Regions from separate parts of the Homo sapiens genome. Here regions 1, 2, 4 and 5 are each linked to region 3. Evidence: promoter capture Hi-C in human tissues and cell types (Jung and others, 2019). All regions are on one chromosome and are shown on one strand. Each heading gives the region's core, a stretch centred on a gene start or on the middle of the fragment in contact. The rest is flanking DNA. Distances are from core to core; before and after follow the strand shown.

The links. Contacts are between HindIII fragments. The study calls those that stand out against the background at their distance.
Region 1: a contact is called between a fragment that was not itself captured here and the fragment with the promoter of ZNF236 in region 3, in 2 of the 25 tissues and cell types used here (lymphoblastoid cells and spleen).
Region 2: a contact is called between a fragment that was not itself captured here and the fragment with the promoter of ZNF236 in region 3, in 1 of the 25 tissues and cell types used here (lymphoblastoid cells).
Region 4: a fragment that was not itself captured here is called in contact with the fragment with the promoter of ZNF236 in region 3 in 1 of the 25 tissues and cell types used here (mesendoderm cells).
Region 5: a fragment that was not itself captured here is called in contact with the fragment with the promoter of ZNF236 in region 3 in 2 of the 25 tissues and cell types used here (aorta and stomach).

The regions. Positions count from the first base shown.
Region 1 is chr18:77,207,656-77,210,429 of GRCh38, reverse strand. No RefSeq gene overlaps it. Among named protein-coding and RNA genes, the nearest start is that of GALR1, 41 kb to the left of the region's middle. RefSeq lists an enhancer at 1,045-1,104. The HindIII fragment of the contact is 8,646 bases long and covers 1-2,774 here.
Region 2 is chr18:76,484,830-76,487,529 of GRCh38, reverse strand. All of the region lies in intron 1 of ZNF516 (zinc finger protein 516), which reads left to right. Among named protein-coding and RNA genes, the nearest start is that of ZNF516-AS1, 5.5 kb to the left of the region's middle. The HindIII fragment of the contact is 4,856 bases long and covers 1-2,700 here.
Region 3 is chr18:76,821,261-76,823,960 of GRCh38, reverse strand. ZNF236 (zinc finger protein 236) reads right to left here and starts at 1,404. Exons shown (of 31, transcript NM_001306089.2): 1 at 1,299-1,404. The coding sequence starts at 1,353. It overlaps ZNF236-DT (ZNF236 divergent transcript), which reads left to right and starts at 1,666. Exons shown (of 3, transcript NR_040024.1): 1 at 1,666-1,945. RefSeq lists silencers at 773-1,512, 1,633-1,822 and enhancers at 1,893-2,002, 2,043-2,122. The HindIII fragment of the contact is 16,105 bases long and covers 1-2,700 here.
Region 4 is chr18:76,466,644-76,469,343 of GRCh38, reverse strand. The region is part of intron 1 of ZNF516 (zinc finger protein 516); the gene reads left to right. Among named protein-coding and RNA genes, the nearest start is that of ZNF516-AS1, 24 kb to the left of the region's middle. The HindIII fragment of the contact is 9,098 bases long and covers 1-2,700 here.
Region 5 is chr18:77,265,021-77,267,720 of GRCh38, reverse strand. All of the region lies in intron 2 of GALR1 (galanin receptor 1), which reads right to left. Among named protein-coding and RNA genes, the nearest start is that of GALR1, 17 kb to the right of the region's middle. The HindIII fragment of the contact is 3,933 bases long and covers 1-2,700 here.

The sequences.
Region 1 (2,774 bases), core at 77-2,576, 390 kb before region 3:
GCCGATGAGGGCTGGACCTTCCACCTCCCCACCCCCACTCCTGCCAGGGCCTCGGGCTGCGCTGAGCATCAGTTGGCTCCATCCCACCCCCTGCACAAGCAGGCAGCACCCTGACCTATCCAGGGCAATGTCAGTGGGTCCGTTGTGGAGCTGAGCCCCACTCCACCCCACCCGGCAGCAACAACCCTGAGCAAAGCAGTGTGACATGGGGCTGCTCACTGCCCTGTGCCCTCCCTGGCAAGCCCCTCACCATAAGAAAGGATAAGGGGTAGGGGGCAGGTTGAGTCCACTTTTTCCCCTCAGTATCAACCGGGCTGAGGAGGGAGCCCCCTCCCTGTGTAGCATCACTGAGGCTAAAGCTGGCAGTGGGAGGCAGGCCGTGGCACCGGCTTCCCCACAGCCTCCCTGGGGTCAGCAGGGCCCAAGGAAGCTGAGTGTAGCCGAAGCCCCACATCCACCTGAAGATACTAGAAGGGCCAGGGGAAGGTTATCATCACCCCACCTGCCTGCAGCCACCCAGCACGGTCAGGGCTCTGCTGCGGCTGTAGTGCCACGTGTACCCAGCCCAGCGGACAGCACCTGCTGCAGACGAAGACGCCAGCAGCTCGGGAGTCTCATAAGATATCCTAAATGTACGGGCTCCGATCCAAAGTCACTCAGCATACCAAGAACTAGGATAATCACAACTGGAAGGAGAAATAAACCGATGGATGACAACACGGAGATGAGTCAGAGGCTATCATTAGCTGAGCAGGATCTTCACATAACCATCATAAATACACTTCAGCATGTATGAATTCCCGTGGAATAAATGGAAAATTAGACAATTTTAGCAAAAGAATAAAGAAGAACCAAAGGAGGCCGGGCATGGTGGCTTACGCCTGTAATCCCAGCACTTTGGGAGGCCAAGGCAGGTGGATCACCTGAGGTCAGGAGGTCGAGACCAGCCTGACCAACATGGTGAAACCCCACCTCAACTAAAAATACAAAAATTAGCCTGGCACGATGGTGGGCACTTGTAGTCCCAGCTACTCGAGAGGCTGAGAGAGGAGAATCACTTGAACCCAGGAGCCAGAGGTTGCAGTGAGCAGAGATCATGCCACCTCACTCCAGCTGGGTGACAGAGTGAGACTCGGTCTGAAAAAAAAAAAAAGAAATTATAAAGCAAGAAAACACAATAACCAAAAGACAAACAAACCTAAAACCTCAATGCGTGGACTCAACCAGGACAGCGAGAGGACAAAAGACTGGACGAGGGCCAGAAGTCACCAACTCAGAGCAGCATTGAGGAAGTGGGCTGAGGAGAAAGAACAGACTCTCAGGAGCCTGTGTCATCCTCAGAGGAAAGAGAAAGTGAAACTGGAAGGTATATTTTTTAAATGGCTGTAAACTTCCCAAGTTTAGTGAAATATACTAAAGATTCAAGGATCTGAGAAAATTCCAAATGTGGTAAACCCAAAGAAATTTATACCAAGATACATCATAATCAAAGGTCTGAAAAACTAAAGACAAAGAAAAATAGCTGCAAAGTAGCCAGAGAGAAACACATTGCTTGTAGGACGTGCAAATTTTCCGTTTGAAACCATGGAACCCAAAAGGAAGTAGCAAGCGTCTCAAATACCAAGAGAAAAGGCCAGTCAACCAAAAGTCTATGGCAGGGAAAATGTCCCTCATGGACGGGTATAAATAGAGATATTCTCCAGTGAAGGAGCACTAAGAGAATCTGCCATCAGCAGGGTTACTCAAAGCATGGCTCGAGGAAGTTTCCTAAACAGAAGGGAAATTATAAAAGAAGCAATATTGGAATATTGGGAAGAAAGTGAGAACAACAGCAAAAGTAAAAAATATGGGTAAATAAATAGACTCCTTCTCCTCTTGAGTTTTCTAAATTATGTTCCATGGTTGGAAGCAAAAATGATAATGCTGTCTGATGTTCTCAATGTATGTAAAGAAAGTATTAAAGATGATAGTCATATTATAAACTATAACATAATATTGTAAACTATAATATAATATGGGGGAGGGAAAGTATGAAACGAGAGTTTAGGTGACCATATTGTATTAGAACTAACAAAATCTAGCACCACTAGACCATGTAGGATGTGTATAAATAATGAAGTACCTACAGCTACCATTTTTAAAAACTATAAAAAAGGATAAACCCCAAAACACTAGATAAATCAAAATGGAATTCTTAAAAAAAAAAAAAGTTCAAGTACAGGAAAGCCAGGAAAAACAAAATAAAGAAACACTAAACAGTGTTTTTATACTTCAGTAAGGACATTAAAAACAACCAGCCTCCGGGCACAGTGGCTCACGCCTGGAATCCCAGCACTTTGGGAGGCCAAAATGGGAGGATCACTTGAGCCCAGGAGTTCAAGACCAGCCTGGGCAACATACTGAAACCCCGTCTCTTTCTAAAAATAATAATAATAATAAACACTAGTGACTGCAGAAGCAAGGGCTGTCTTTGGTCGGCATCTCTCTGGTGTGTTTCTCGTGGGACATAATCTGCTGAATGCGTGGACTTGGAGTTAACTGAACCCCTTTCAACTTTCAGTCGTTCTCTGCATGTGTCTGAGCACGTGCCCCGACCCTGGAGCACCCTGGGCACTCAGCCAGCGTGGTCCTGACCTCACAAAGCCTTTGGATTCAGGCAGGAGAGAAAATATGCTATCAATAATTCAGGGCTTCTAAATTTGCTGCCAGCTGAGATTTCTGAAATTCCTGCCGTGTGAGGGCTTCATCCTGAGCCCTGTGTAGTGCCCCTGGTG
Region 2 (2,700 bases), core at 166-2,665, 340 kb after region 3:
CTTTAGAATGTCTCCTGTTCTTTAAAAAGTATCTTTATTTTAAAATTAATTTTTCTAACTGAAGAATATTTTAGGGGAATGACTTAAATAGCTATAAGGAAGGATATATTTATAGGGGCTATAAATGCATCATTTGTATTTGAAATTTCTAGCATCCACTACAGTGTACGAAGTGTATTTTAGATGGACTGGTAAAAACCAGCAGTTGCAACTGTCTGTTTTGCATTCCTTATGCTCTGCATCTGGCCACACGTGACTTGAACAGCTGAAGCTTCTCTTTCCAAAGCTAGAGCCATCATCGTATTTATGTCTAGCCTGAGATGTTTTCCGATGGTATACATTCGAATTGTAAAGCAGTGTAATTTGTGGCTCTCAACATGCCTTAAAAGTCATTTCCAAAAAAGATCTGGCATTTAATCTTTAATTCAAATGGTACTGAAAATTACAAAGCAGGAGTAATTAGAAATGCAACTATTTTTAGAAAGCAAACATGTAAATATATGTTAAGTGATGACTAAAACACAAGCAGGAGAGTAGGAAAAATTATTTAAAAGACAACTATAGTAGGTTTAGATACATCTTACCATATACTGTATTTTAACTCTGTGTTAATTCTGGTAGATTTACTTCGTATTCCTGTTTCTGTACCTTCCCCCCGAACCTTGGTCAGGAAGTAAGTAAAGTCTATAGAATCTCAGAATTTACTGGGCCGAGAAGAGATGTATATCGTATGTAATTGTGAAATCCAGACAGTTCCTCAACTGAGTGGTGAAAATGGGATGAAATCTTAGTGTGTTTTGTTATCTTCAAGGCAGAGGGAATCTGGTGTTTTTTTTTTTTTTTCCTTCAAAACCAGGTAGACAACGTCTCTCACCGCCCTGGGGAGTTGCTGGTGCTGGCTCAGCCTCCAGGATACAGCTGTCCTGTTATTTTCTTGCTTTTTTAGGAGATGGTGTGCGTAGAGGAAGATGTGGTGTTAGTTTTCAGGACACAGTTAAAGACAGGCTTAAAAAATCAAGGTTCTCTATTAAAACTATAATTTCTTGTTAATGGCTAAGAATTAAAAATTTTTCAGCGCTATTAACACTTGAAGAACTCTCTAATCCCCCACTCTTCCCATGTGAAAGTAAAGGACATTTGTTTAGGAATTTTTTTGTTTCAGAAAAGGGCAACATGTGTCTGTCTTTGCCATATGGTACTATTTAACCTATATTGCATGAGCTGACAAGACACTGTGTTTGGGCATTGATTTATTTTAGCATTCGAGAATGTTCTTTGAAATTTAGTACAGTAAATGATGCATTGAAAGTTGTACAGAATGGTCGTTTGTGGCTTTAGCAGATTCTTTCTCAGTTGATACTTAAGGGTGTAGTGAACAAGTTTCACTTTTTTTCCACCGATACAATTTTTGTGAGAAATAGTTTGCCATTCAATGCTGAGTGACTGTTAATTCAGGAAAACACAGACTTGAATATAAGTAGTTAAGACTTCTGGGGGTCACAAATAAGGCTAAGAGTTGGGCAGGTCAGAAAGAGAAGATTCACTGTTTAGTTCCTGATTATTCTGGTGATTTTAACCTAGAGCAAAAAAGTATGTTTATTATTATTATTATTTTTGTCAAAAAGACTCAGCTTTTGTCCCCATCTTTTTTTTTTTTTTTTAAAGAAATGAGTTAATGAACAAATGGACAATCCTATTTAATAGTTCCCCTGAGCTTCTGTGGTGCGGCCCTGGAATTATCTACAGGCAGAACTGAGATGTTTTCACTTAGGCTGTGTTTTGTTTACACATGCTGGTTTGGGTTTTTGGGTAGACCTGTGTTGAATTCACAGGGTGGCTCTTATGCCATGTTGCAGGAATTTATTAGTATGGAACCCCACAGAAGATTCCACCTCCATTTTTAACATTCTGTATGGCTGTCGAGTCGACACCAAAGCAAATGTGTCTCCAGACACCTCTCTCTCGTTGTCTCAGTCTTGTTGGCTTTAATCATCCTGTTTTCTCTGTTTTACGAAAGAAGTAAACAAATTTCTATTCATCCACACGTGTGTCCCCAAAGCAAGGCATATGTGGACTGAAAGGTGGGCTGGGGCTTTGCTTCGAGAACGTGAGCGAAGAGCGTGTGAGTGCACGTTGCCTTTGGTGATGCATCATTTATATTGACATTATCAGTGACACAGACAGAACATTTTTATGCCAGTTTGAGAAAATACCATCATTCACATTGATAATCATATTCCCCCCAGATTTAGATTAATCATTTCAAAGCTTTTCATGTCTTTAGCATGACCATTAGCATAATGATGATAATTTGTCCCTTTGAGTAACACCAAGCATAATTTAAATTAACGTTATTGTGTTGAGTGCAGTGCAACCCCAGGTGCTCAAGTAGCTTCCTTTTTTCAAAAATGGCTTTTTACTTTTTAAAATGAGAGGCAAGCAAGACGATCTCATTCCTAAAACCAACTTAAAAAATAAAAGTGTTAATAAATAAGTGAATTCCTAATGTAAAAGTGCTTGCCGTAGCAACGTAAACTTGGGGACAATTCTGTAGAGTCATGCGATTAGTGGTTTAGTGGTAGGATTAAAATTAGCCTCGGTAAATTACCCTGGTGACAGAAAAGCAGAATCTGTTAATGGTTTCACAGGAAGATTGGCTTATCAGTTATTTTCTAGGTTGATGAAAGATTATGGGCTGCT
Region 3 (2,700 bases), core at 155-2,654:
CCCTTTCCAAACGCGGAGCGCCGCTCCAGTTGCACGGGTGACCAGGACCAGGGACCAGGCCTGCAGGGGGAGACTCGCGTCCAAGGCCGCACGGGAACCACGGCGCCCGCGAGAAAAAGCGCGGCGCCCCCTACCCCACTGCCCTCGACCTGGGAACCGCGGCACCGGCGAGTGCGCCCCGATCCCCCTGCGCAGGAAAGTCCGTTCCTCAAGCTCCGGGCTGGGGCTTTGGAAGGCAAGTCAATTCCTGACTGCTGGAAGGGCCAGGGTCTGGGGGTGCCCGGTTGTGTGTCTGCCTGCTCTTAAATTCTGGGCCTTTCTCCTTCCTTGGAAAACAAAATCTGAGTTATTTCATGACTTTAGCAAAGTACCATGGAGAATAAATTACTGGGGAAAACACTTCCTGACGCCTACTGTGTGCACGATCTAGCGCTCCCCACATAACACTGATGCCTACTGTATGCACGACCCACAGCGCTCTCCAGAAGCTCCAGGTTCAAGCTACCCGGATCACAATGGTGCCTACTGTTTGCACGACCCACAGCGCTCTCCAGATGCCCAGGGTTCCAGCCCCCCGGATCACAATGGCGCCTACTGTATGCACTACCCACAGCGTCTGCAGAGGCTCAGGGTTCAAGTTCCCGGATCACAATGGCGCCTACTGTATGCACGCCCCACAGCGCGCCCCAGATAACACTGGAGCACACTGTGTGCACGACCCTGCGCTTCCCGGACAACGCTGGCGCCTACTGTGTGCACGACCCCGCGCTCCACGGCCTCCCTGTGGGCCGAGCCCAACGTCCCCGGGGCAGCCGGCGCCGCGCAGGGTCGGGCGGGGGCGCCGTCCGGGAGGAGCCCGGGGCGCGGTATCCGCAGGCCCGGGCTCTGGCCAGGCCGCCTCCCCAGCGCGCCCCGCGGCCCTCCGGCCCCGGGACGGAACACGGGGCGGCCACTTTCCCTCAAGTTCAGCGCGGGCCGCGGCAGGGCCAGCGGGGGCAGGGCGCGCGCAGGAGGCGGCCGCCTGCTCCCTCACCCGCCTCCCGCCTCCCGCCTCAGCCGCCGCCCGGCCCAGGAAAGTAGGCCCAGCGCGCGGAGGGGCCGGGCGGCGACTCGCCCGTATCATTCCGCCCGCGCTGCGGCCCGCCCGGCCAGTCGGCGGCGGCGGCGGCCCGGGTCTGCGCGGCCCCCGCCCCCGCCCCGCCGCTCCCGGCGCCCCCCGCGCCGCATCCGGGGACTGGCAGGGCGCGGGCCCCGCACCGGCCGCCGGCGGGGCGCGAGGGCGCGGCCGCGGGCCTTACCGGAGTCGCCGCGCGCCTTGCTCTCCCTGGGCTTCGGGGGGCGGCCCCGCGGCATCGTCGGCGGCCCGGCTCGCACCCACACCCACTCACACTCACACTCACACTCACACGCGGCGGCGGGGGCGCGCACGCGCGGGCACCGGGGCGGGGGCGCGCCCAGCCGGCGCTAGAGGCGGGCGGAGCTGCCCGGCGGCGGGCGGCCCGGTCCGAGCGCCGCCGGGCTCACGGGGGAAAGGCGCCTGAACGCGCGCACCGGAGCGCTCGAACCGCGCCGGCCTTGGCAGGTTCCATGGCCCGCGGGCCGCGGTGGGGGCGTTGGGCGCGGGCGCGGGCGCGGTGGGGGCGGGGGCGGCGGCGGGGCGCATGCGCGGCGCCGCGGGGCCTTAGCGGACGGAGGGGAGCGCGGGGGTCACCGGGCCGGGCCGGCAGCCCTAGAGCTCGGCCTGGCGGGGACCCTGGGCCAGCCCCGCGCCTCCGTGGCCCGGGCGTCTCGTGCGTGTCCGCGAACTCGCGTGCGCGCGTCACCTCGGACCGCAGCATGGCTCGGAGGGCGGCCCTACTCGCGCCGCCCTAGTGCTGCGAAGGGCCTCGGAGCCCAAACCCGGAACCGCCATCTGGGACTGGGAAGACGACATGGCCAGAAGCCGGTAATGTTCCTTTCCCTGGGGGCAGTGCATTAAAATGGACCATTTCACGTGTGCTGGTCTTGTGTGTTGTTGCCTGCGCTAACTTACACGAAGTGGCAACAGGAACAGGCAGCGCAGCACCCGAGCGCCGGGTGGAGAGGCCGGCCGAGCCCGGGGAAAGCGACCTTACTCTGTCACCTGGGCTGGAGTGCAGTGGCGCAAATTAAAGTGTGCAGTTTGATACATCTTGACACATGTATACACTGTGAAACCATCATCACAATCAACAGTGAAGATGTTCCTCCCGTCTCTCTGTAACCCTTTCCTCTCTCCCTCCTTCCCTCCTCCCCCTCCCACCCATCTGCTTTTTGTCACTATAGTTTGAATTTCCTGGAGTTTTTAAATATCTTTTTATACAGACTGGGTCTCGCTTGCTCTGTCACCCAGGCGGGAGTGCAGTGACACGATCGGGACCCACTGTAGCCTCAAACTCCTGCCCTTAAGCAATCCAACTGCTTCAGCCTCCCGAGTAGCTGAGACTGCAGGTGAGGACCGCCATGTCTAGCTTTTTGTTTTTTTTTAAACATATGGGGTCTCTCTGTGTTGCCCAGCCTGCTCTGGAACTCCTAGCTTCAATTGACCCTCTGCCTCAGCCTCCCAAAGTGTTGGGATTGCAGATGTGAGCCACTGTGCCCAACCTGTTTTTCTTGGTGTTTTATATAAATGGAATTGTATCGCACGTAATCTTTAGGGAAGTGGGGGCTGTTCATTGAGCA
Region 4 (2,700 bases), core at 158-2,657, 350 kb after region 3:
CTAAATATAAAGATATAATGAGTGTGGCTTTTTTAGTAATATAAAAAATAGGACTGCAAATCCTTAATAATCATATGTTTGGGGTGTAATTTTGGACTGGTGATTTCACCACACTGCACAGTTGACTAATTTTATATTTTGCTGGGAGAAGGCAAAAACTTTCTTCCAGTAAAGGGAACATTCGCACACCCTGATTTGACTACCTCGGTTATTTATATTCAGGCGTACAGAGCTAAACATGTAGAAACATCATGACTTCATTACAAAATCCAAAACTATTCAAGAATGAACATTAAATGCCTTTAAAATCGGGCTGGGAAGTTGGAGACATTAGAACTCTTCAGACCTGGAGGCTCTCCCCAAGTGCTTCTTTGTAGCAGTGTGGTTTAGTGGTTCAGGACCTTCCATTGTTGAAGGACATATAATATACAATGGAGTGATAAATAAAGTCCTGGCAACAAACACTCTTTGAGGACTAAACAAGGAACTGATGGGGAAGATGGCTCAGCATTTTAAGTTACTCTTCTCAAGTGACAGTTTTCAGGGGTGTCAATTTTTTGGCTTCCCTCGGCCACATTGGAAGAAGAGGAACTGTCTTGGACTACACATAAAAGATGCTAACACGGCCGGGCGCGTTGGCTCATACCTGTAATCACAACACTTTGGGAGGCCGAGGTGGGTAGATCACTTGAGCTCAGGAGTTTGAGACCAGCCTGGCTGACATGGCGAAACCTCGTCTCTACAAAAAATAGAAAAAAAATTAGCTGAGTGTGGTGGTGCACACCTGTAGTCCCAGCTACTAGGGAGGCCAAGGTGGGAGGATCGCTTGAGCCCGGAAGGCCGAGGTTGCAGTGAGCCAAGGTTGCACCACTGCACTCCAGCCTGGGCGACAGTGAGACCCTGTCTCAAAAAAAAAAAAAAAAAAAGACACTAATGATGAGCCTAAAACAAAAAACAAAAAACAGCAAAAAACCTCATAATGTTTAAGAAAGGTTATGAATTTGTGTTGGGCTGCCGCGGGTTGGACAAGCTTGGACTTTAAATTGTCCAGAGAGCGAGTGTGATTGTTTTTCTTACTAAAAGAGCACGGGGCTGCTCCAAATCACAAGTATTGTAGGACACTGCCAATCCTAATTTTGATATCTCTAATTTCAGATAAACATAAAAAACACATTTCTGTATACATAGAGAGCAGAAGTTCTCTATTTCTGAACCTTTTTGATCCATCAGAGCCAGAGAATCTCCTGGGATGCCTTGAGTGGCCTGAAGTGGTCAGTTCACAGAATAGGCACGGGCTGGCTGGGGTGTGTTGGCTGCTGCAGGGAGTCCCGCAAGGCCGTCCGTCGCGTGCTGTCCGTAGGGAGGTCTGGAATGCGCCGCAGCTACTCTTTGCTTGCAAGGCTGCCTGGGATGACAGTGGGAGTTAGCAGTCAGCAGATAGTTGAAGCACTCATTTCTGTCCTTCGTTTATTACTTATATGTAGCTGCCCTGAGCGGGATGGGATGCATGTAGTTATTCGATAACTGGACTTGAATTTATTTGGTAAAAATAACTCAGGAATCGAACGGGCTTACAGTTTGAACATGCCTGCAAATGCAGGAAATTGCTAAACTTCTGCTTTGAAAATGAGGCAGCCCATGTAGATTGCAACATGTTTTTGAGGTGTAGCCTTTGAGTGGGCTGGGGCTGTTGTCTTTCTCAAGATCCCAGTTAGGAAGGAGCAGCAGGGACTCCCCTCTGGTTTGGACCTCCCCACCACCAGCCTCCGAAGCCTTGTCCCCTCCTTGACTGAGCACTTACTTGCAGCCTCCAGGAAAGCCCAGCACCTGTGGATGCTGTAATTCCAGCACTGCCCCCGAGGTGTGCTTAATATCTAGTTAGGGCGAGAGAGATCTCAGGGCAGAGCGTTTGCCCAAATCATTTCCTCTCTGGGACAAGAGACACGCAGGACTTCCTGCCAGCCCAGAGGGGCTGTGAGCTGCAGGTTCCGAGAGACACGCAGGACTTCCTGCCAACCCAGAGGGGCTGTCAGCTGCAGGTTCCGAGAGACACGCAGGACTTCCTGCCAACCCAGAGGGGCTGTCAGCTGCAGGTTCCGAGAGACACGCAGGACTTCCTGCCAGCCCAGAGGGGCTGTGAGCTGCAGGTTCCGAGAGACACGCAGGACTTCCTGCCAACCCAGAAGGGCTGTGAGCTGCAGGTTCCGAGAGACACGCAGGACTTCCTGCCAGCCCAGAGGGGCTGTCAGCTGCAGGTTCAGCGAGGCCACGGCTGCCTCTGCCTGATTTTACTTCCCAGAGGCCAGCGTCTCCTGGGTTTTGCCTCTCTGGGGCCCCCCTGCCTCCCAGGGCCCTTTGCCTGCACCTCTGGGTGGTCCTTCCCTGTGAGGCTGCAGAACCAGGGTCCTGCCCCAGGGCATCCCTTCCCATGTTTGCTCCCCACGTTCACCGCCCGTGGCATCACCACCATAGACTCCAGGTCCTGGTGATACCCTGGTGGAGGGACTTCTGTGTCATCCTGTCTCCTGTTGCATCAGCTGTGCGTGTCCCAGCAGGGATGGCCCTCGTGGCCCCTGTGCATGTCCAGGGTCCCTTCTCTACTTTTCCAGCCCCCACTGTAGGCACGTGTCCCCACTGGGTGTCTTGCCTCACACCCATCCCAGGCTTGGCAGGCAGGCACCACTGCGTCCTGTGTGCCAC
Region 5 (2,700 bases), core at 101-2,600, 440 kb before region 3:
TGAAAACTCTGTCTTTGGATTCAAAGAAAAGGCAATGATCCAATTTATTAAAATGCTTTAATTACGGGAGTCTAGTATTTTTTAAACTATAAAATACAAACCAATCAGTTGGTTCTCTCCTCAAACAGATGGTTCTCTAACAAGTGCAGCTCAAAACCCACACACAACCTCTAGTGCCGCGATGGTCACAACAGAGCCATCGAAACTAGTGGACCGATGATGGGACCACATGCATTATTTCACCGAATGTCCTTTACGACTCTATGAAGCAGATGCTGTCATGACCCACAGGTTGTAGATGAGGAAACTGAGACTCAGGAGGGGAAGAGCAAATGCCCAGTGTCCCACAGCTGAATGCAAAGGTGGGGCTGGCAGCCAGGCCGACATGCTCCCCAGCCCATGCACTGGGCAGCTGAGCTGCAGGGAAAATTCTGGTCATCAAAAGCCACACTTCCCTCTCTGCACCCAACAGGGCTGCTTCTCAAGAAGCATTATGCTAGCTGTGTGGGCAATAAAGGCTGCCATAAGAAAACCTCCATCTCAGTTCCCTGGCGTGAAGGGACAGAGTGCTTCCCCAGCCTCCTCTGTTCGATGGCTTCAGCTTTCTGTTCACTTCACCAGCAAGTTTACTTCTCATAGGAAAAAAGGAACATTAAGCGCAAAGAGGTGCACCTTTCAGCCTCTTGGCCAAAGGTTAGGACTCAAGTAACTTCTTTCTCTCAGACATAGTCCAGGCTGTAATATTTTAGAGCATGCTTGGACATTGGGAGGGGAAGCATCAGAGCGTGAGCTGGCAGCAATCCCACTGATATGGTTTGGCTGTGACCCCACCCAGCTCTCATCTTGAATTGTCATTCCCATAATCTCCACACATAATGGGAGGGACCCAGTGAGAGGTAATTGAATCATGGGGGCAGTTACCTTCATGCTGTTCTCGTGACAGTGAGTTCTCAGGAGATCTGATGGTTTTATAAGGGGTTTCCCCCGACCCTTCACTCTCATTCTTCTCCTTCCTGCTGCCATGTGAAGAAGGACATGTTTGCTTCCCTTTCTGCTATGATTGTAAGTGTCCTGAGGCCTCCCCATCCCTGTGTAACTGTGAGTCAGTTAAACTTCTTTCCTTTATAAATTACCCAGTCTTGAGTATGTCTCTTAGCAGTGTGAGAATGGACTAATACGGTAAATTGGTACTGCAGAGAGTGGGGCACTGCTGTAAAGATACTCAAAAATGTCGAAGCAACTTTGGAACTGGGTAATAGGCAGAGGCTGGAACAGTTTGGATGGCTCAGAAGAAGACAGGAAAATGTTGGAAAGTTTGAAACTTCCTAGAGCCTTGGGGGTGCTGAGAAGACAGGAAGATGTGGGAAATTTTGGAACTTCCTAGAAACTGTTGAATGTCTTTGACCAAAATGGTGATAGTGATATGGACAATGAAGTCCAGGCTAAGGTAGTCTCAGATGGAGATCAGAAACTTCTTGGGAACTGGAGTAAAGGTCACTCTTGCTATGCTTTAGCAAAGAGACTGGTGGCATTTTGCCCTTGCCCTAGAGATCTGTGGAACTTTGAACTTGAGAGAGATGGTTTGGAATTGGAACTTACGTTTATAAGGGAAGCAAAGCATATAAACGTTTGGAAAATTTGCAACCTGATCATGCAATAGAAAAGAAAAAAACGCATTTTTGGAGGAGAAATTCAAGCAGGCTGCAGAAATTTGCATAAATAATGAGAAGCCAAATGTTAATCACCAAGACAATAGGGAAAATGTTTCCAGGGCACATCAGAGGTCTTCATGGCAGCCTTTCCCATCACACACCCAGAGGCCTAGGAGGAAAAGTGGTTTCATGTCCAAGCCCAGGGCCTTGCTTCTTTGTGTAGTCTTGGGGTTTGGTGTCCTGTGTCCCAGCTGTGGCTAATAGGGGCCAACATATAGCTCAAGCCATCGCTTTAGCAGGTGTAAGCCCCAAGCCTTGGCAGCTTACCCATGAGGTTGGGCCTGCAGGTGCACGGAAGTCAAGAATTGAGGTTGGGGAACCTCCATCTAGATTTCAGAGGATGTATGGAAATGCTTGGATGCCCAGGCAGAAGTCTACTGCAGGGGCAGAGTCCTTATGGAGAACCTCTGCTGGGGCAGTACAGAATGGAAATGTGGGGTCAGAGCTCCCACACAGACTCCCCACTGGGGCATTACCTAGTGGATCTGTGAGAAGAGGGCCACCATCCTCCAGACCCCAGAATGGTAGATCCATCCAAAGCTTGCACCCTGCACCTGGAAAAGCCATAGACACTCAACATCAGCCATGAAGGCAGCCCGGAAGGGGGCTATGCCCTGCAAAGCCACAGGGGAGGAGCTACCCAAGGCCATGGGAGCCCACCTCTTGCATCAGTGTGACCTGGACGTGAAACATGGAGTCCAAGGAGATCATTTTGGAGCTTTAAGATTTGGCTGCTCCACTGGATTTCAGATTTGCATGGGGCCTGTAGCCTCTTTGTTTTGGCTAATTTCTCCTATTTGGAATGGTTGTATTTCCCCAATGCCTGTACTCCCATTGTATCTAGGAAGTATAATAGGTACGTGCTTTTGATTGTAAAGGCTTATAGGCAAAAGGGACTTGCCTTGTCTCAGATGAGACTTTGAACTCAGACTGTTGAGTTAATGCTGGAATGAGTTAAGATTTTGGGGGAATGCTGGAAGGGCATGAT